Linked DNA regions of Homo sapiens: region 1 is linked to region 2. Evidence: promoter capture Hi-C in 16 types of primary human blood cells and fetal thymus (Javierre and others, 2016). All regions are on one chromosome and are shown on one strand. The core of a region is centred on a gene start or on the middle of the fragment in contact, and the rest is flanking DNA. Distances in the headings are between cores, read along the strand shown. Region 1 has its middle 14 kb from the start of KHDRBS2. Region 2 holds the start of PHF3 (PHD finger protein 3).

Region 1 (2,700 bases), core at 96-2,595, 1.3 Mb before region 2:
TAAATGATCGTGTATGTAATAGAACACTTTCATACTCATTACCACACAGGCAAAAGGCCTTTTAAAGTAATTTTACTTTCTTACATACAATTATAGCAGCAGACAATTGTAATTCAAATACACAAATTTAATTCCTATATTTTTGTGCTTGTATTTGCAGAGAGACCTGTTAGCCTTTACTCACATACCTTATTCTAAAATGCATTCAAGCCATTTTCTTAGGAGGCATTGTCTAAATATGATTTAAAACTCTTCATTCACCCTGTTCCATTTTCACTTGGAGAGTTGAATCCAGTGGGTATTGATTTTATAATATTATTTTGAAACAGCAAAACAGAACTGAAAAATCAGTGCTGATTGTTTTTCCATTTAAGATCAAATTATTCACTCAATGAATGTTTGTTGAATTAGATGTATCTTTTTCTGAACTATAACTGTGAGGCAAAGAACATGGAAAGTGTCCAAAAGGCATGTGAAAGCCAAACAATCAGTCTATAAAAGATAACAACATACCTGGGTTTTCAAATAAATTTCTATTTTCTATTTTCCTTTATTTATTTCCATTTTTTCCTCCCTCCCTTACTTCCTTTCTTTTCTTTTTTTTCTTTTTTTTTTTCTAATACCAGGCTTTGCACACTGAGAAAAAAGAAACACAGTCCTCTCACAGACCTTTTTTTAGACTAGAGAGTGAGATAGACTGAAATCAAACAAGAAAATGGACAATGATTTTTATGAAGAATAAAAATGGGCCCCCTGAGCAAGAGAAACAGATCGTTGATGAGAGGTAGCAATTTTGATTGGGTTATCTGGGAAATCTATCTGAAAAAGCTGCATTAGAGCAAAACCTGAAAGACAAGTAGTTATCCAGCGGCGGAGGGAGGTGGGAGATGGAGTTGGAACCTCCTAGGCAGAAAACATAGTGTGTGCTAAGATCATAAAGAGGGAGAAACCTTAGTATACACTTAGATGACTGAAGTGTAATAGGAGCATATTGAATCATAATTTAGAGAGGTAGACAAGAAGCAGATAAAAACAGAAGCCCAGTTCTTAGTGAGTCACACTGACCTAGAAGCATTTTACAGGCTCCCTTGCAGCTAATTGAAACATGACTAATTTCTGGCCAATATACTGAAAATTGAAGTGTCATATGTACTTATAGGTGGTCTCTTTAATGGGAGGAGCAGAGTCTTCTGCTCTACTTCCTCCATACTGCTGCTTGTGATAGCTGGAGTTCTATCAGTCTTCATAGACTATAACATAGGCTTGGGAATCACACCTACCTAGTGAGCTCTAGCTTAATTCTTTCTGACAGCTTCATAGAACTACCATACCAGTTCTGGATTACTTAACTTTTCATTTATTTTATGTTAGAGAGAAAACAACTAACTTTTAAAGTAATAGTTATTTTGGATGTTTCTATGATTGCAGGTAATACTTAATTCAGGAGACTAATGTAGTAGCTCAAATGAAAGGTGGCAATGGCTTGTGCTATAATAATAGTGGGTAAAAGGAGAAGAGGACAAATTAAAGATATATTTTGGAGGTAGAGCACAAAGGACTTAAACAAAAGATTGGGTATAGAAGAGTGAGGGAAATAAAAATATCAAAAATTAATCCAAGATATGTGGCTTGAGCAATCATTTTGTAGATGGTGCTATCACGAGTAAATAGGGAAAAATTGAAAAGGCACCAATTTGAGGCAAAATAAAGACTTCATTTGTGATATATATTAAAAATACCAAATTCTTCATATTTGTTTTAAATATGTGCTAAGTCCATCAGGCAAAACTGAATACATCTGCAAAATTTCTTATAACATTCATAGTTAATTATAATTTTACCGGAAGACCTGTAGCCAGCTTAGGAAGTCTCGCTGAACTTAGTTTATTTTTCCTTTATGTTACTCAGAAGTAGATTTGGTTGCTGTTTGCTTTATGTTACTCATAAGCAGATTAAGTTGCTGTGCAAACATGCAATTTACTCTTTTTTGGTTGCTATGTATTCCAGAGCAAAAAACAAAAACAACAACAACAACAAAAACCAACCGCCACCACCTAGATTTAGGCCAGTAGATTCTCTAATTTTTCTTAAGGGGAATACCAATGTTTTTGAAGGCTTTCTACCATGTTGGTGATTTACAATGTTATTTAATTTGGACCTTAGCAATATGGCTTGCCATCATCATTTTCCAGACTCAAAGAAATTAAGTAACATAGCTAGAAAAATGCAGAACAAGAATTCAAAGCTAGGTCTGCCAAATCCCAAGGCCTGTTTTGCTACTACTAAAAATTTCTTCTTTCTTGTATGTTCATCCTGTAAATAAAGCCATAAAAATTCCAAGATATCTTGTTATCATCATGAAAACTACTTTTGAAAATATATTTACATATTTATCCACACATATTCATGTATATACACTCTAAATATTTTCCAATAACAATAATATATAAAGAGTTGAACTAGAGTAGAACTTTTTGTGAGCAAACCTGTATCTCTGGGTAGCCTCTGGCATTGATTAAATTGAAGTTTAAAAAATTATAATTCAGTTCCATCTTCAGACAGTCCATTATCAAAGCATAATGCCTTTTAAATGAGTTGAAAAAAAAGCCCATAGGCAGTAAAAAGTAGTAAAATCAAGAATGATCATCTAGTGCATGATATTTAAATGAGAAGTGAAGGGAGTAAATTAAAGGACACTGC
Region 2 (2,700 bases), core at 151-2,650:
GCCCTTTTAAAACGTCACACTGAGATCCACCAGAAGAGTAAGAATAACATTAGGCTTGTTTTTATAATTCATCCCAGACATCCCAAGTGAGAATTAAAAAAAAAAATTACTCATTTCTATTTTCCTTTCTCAAAAACACATTACAAAAAGATTGTAAAACAAAGTCTTGAGGGATTGATTAGTCAAGACAGGGGGTGAAACTCTTAAGAATCCAGTGGAATCAGGACAACCCAAACTTCCTTTGTAGAAGAGCATTTGCTATTAAGAGTGCTTAAAATATCAGAAGACTAGAGAGAGGAAAGAACAGATCTTCACCACATGCCTGTGACTTATTCTTCCACCCTGCACTAATCTTACAATGTGGGCTGCGGTTGGTCTAAAGCTTAAATCAACAAGTACTGTAAAGGTTTTAGAACAGTGCAGACCACACAGTAAGGTGCTCAGCAGGTACTGGCTGAATACTGTAATAGTCCCTGTAGATAAAAGCCACAAACCCTGTCCCTAAGTAGCTCCTTTTGGTTGGAGTGACTGACAAGCAACAATTACTTCACAGCGCTTATTAAGGGCTGAGATAGGGGTTAGCTCAAGTGTCTGTGGAAGCAGACCAGTGGGTCTCAAACTTTTTTTGTCTCTGGACCTCTACACAATATTTGTTACCACAAATAATGTATTTATGAAAAGCATATTTTCCAAATTAATAAAAGGGTGATATCTAAAATTTCTGCAGATTTCCTCAATGTCTGGCTTAATAGAAGATGGCTGGATTCTCTTATCTGTTTCTGCATTGAATCAGCTGCTATATGCTGTTTTGGTTGAAGGGTGGGAAGAAAATTTGGCCTTAGACACATGCTCCTGGCAAAGGAATGGAGGCTCTACTGAAAGGTCTTGGCGACCCCTCAGGGAAACCTGGGACCACATTCTGAAGACTGCTTACTGGATACCAAGAATGTTTCTTGGAGGTAGCAATTTGAGTCCTGAGGTAGATCAGCCATGTAGGGTGAGGGTAACGGAGGTAGTTAATGGTAAGGCTGCTGTGCCGAGCCAGCACAGATATTTGGGCAGAGGGCTCATCTACTCCATCCTATTCTACCATTCTTGAACTCACAGTCAATTAATAAAAAGTACCTGGGGTTGGGGAGCTGCGCATCAATATTATATTAACTGTGAAGCCTTAGTGCTTACTACGGTCGAGAAAAAGCGCTCCTCTGATTCGCCCCTCCCGGCGGCGCGGAGGTGTGAGCTAGAAGCCCGCAGGCGGTGCCGCGTCCTCCGAAGACAGGGAGGGGCGCGGCAACGCCGGGAAGCGCTGCAGCCCGGGGCCCCACGGAGGCGCGGCGCTCGAGGCCCTAAAGCGCGCAGGCGCGGCAGCGACGCAGGCCGCGGCCCCCGGAACGGTAAACAGTGGGGTCACGTGACACGGCCCCTCTCCAGCTCCCGCGCCGCCGCCGCACGCCGATGGCTGCGGGGTCTCGCGCCGTCGCACCGTCCCCACGCGGCAAGCGACCTTCGGGCTCAGGGCGGCGGCGGCTGCAACGAGGATTAGGAGGGCGGCGCGGAAGCCAAGAATAGTGTCGTCAGCAGCAGCCATTTGGTCCCAGGAGGAAAAGAGGCTGTGGCAGCGACGCCGACGTCCTGCGCGTACCCCCTCTCCGCGGCACCCACCGGGCCCCCTCCTCCTCCTCTTCGGCGGCGGCAGCGTCCACCATCTTCCTCTTGCTGCCAGTGGTAGCGCTCGTCTGGCGGAGCTGGGTGAGTTGCGGCTGTGGCCGCGGCCAGGGAGACGGGCAATCCTCCCCTCCCCCATCCCCTTCCACACGCACAGCGCCTCCGCGGGCCTCTCCGCCCCTCCCGCGGCGGACTCTCCGCGCTTTTCTCCCGCGCAGCCGAGAGATCGCCTCTCGGGCCTCTTGCGCAACGTCCTCGGCCTACCTGGGCCGCGCCGCTGGCGCCTGTGGACCATTTGGACCGCGGGCTGGGGAGGGAGTCGCAGCGACGCGGTCGCCAGGCGGAGGGTCGGGACCACGGCCTCTCTCCCGACCACTGGTACCCAGCCGTCTGCTGCGAGGGCGCCCCGCCGCCGCTGAGGCGCGGGCGCGCAGGCCCGAGGCACGGCGGGCGCTGCCTGGAAGGCCCGTCTCGCAGGCCCCCGGATCCGGCCGTTGGGGCCTCTTCCTTCTCAGGGAGCCCCAGCATGGAGCTTTGGGCCTTGGTTTCGGGAAACTGGGACTGGCCCTGGCTGCTAGGCTGCTCCCTGCTGCTGCTTTTTGGAGATGAGAGTTGCTCTTCCATTTATCCTCCAGTTACCGCGCGCTTTTGTGCCCGGGACTCAAACTGTGGACTCCTTTTGCTTAGTTTGAAATGAGAAGCCTAGACTCTTGCCTTCCGATAATACATGTAATTTAATGAACCACTTGTCGATACGTACGTGTTAATGGTGCTAAATAACTGATCACCTGACACGGGGGGCGGGGGCGGTGCGGAGAGTAGAAAGGAAGAGAATGTTGATATCGCGCACGGAGTCCTGTGTCCCTCCTTTCCCTCAGGATGTGTTGCCGGGTTAGGTGACCTTTTTCCATCTTTGGGCTTTTAAATGCCAATTCCTAGAGACTAGATTGGGGTGGTTATTAGTGCTTTCCAGTAGTCACGCGTAGAATATGTTCATGGATTAATGTTAAGTGGCAACACTGCTTTAATATTCTA

What was found. The method cuts DNA at HindIII sites, captures the fragments that hold promoters and counts their contacts. A CHiCAGO score of 5 or more calls a contact.
Region 1: a contact is called between a fragment that was not itself captured here and the fragment with the promoter of PHF3 in region 2, in 4 of 17 cell types (monocytes, total B cells, naive B cells and 1 more). The highest score is 13.8, in monocytes.

What each region holds. Positions count from the first base shown.
Region 1 is chr6:62,299,287-62,301,986 of GRCh38, forward strand. No RefSeq gene overlaps it. Among named protein-coding and RNA genes, the nearest start is that of KHDRBS2, 14 kb to the left of the region's middle. The HindIII fragment of the contact is 3,646 bases long and covers 1-2,700 here.
Region 2 is chr6:63,634,402-63,637,101 of GRCh38, forward strand. PHF3 (PHD finger protein 3) reads left to right here and starts at 1,401. Exons shown (of 16, transcript NM_001370348.2): 1 at 1,401-1,749. RefSeq lists enhancers at 89-626, 1,158-1,978 and silencers at 1,196-1,555, 1,996-2,175. The HindIII fragment of the contact is 3,030 bases long and covers 381-2,700 here.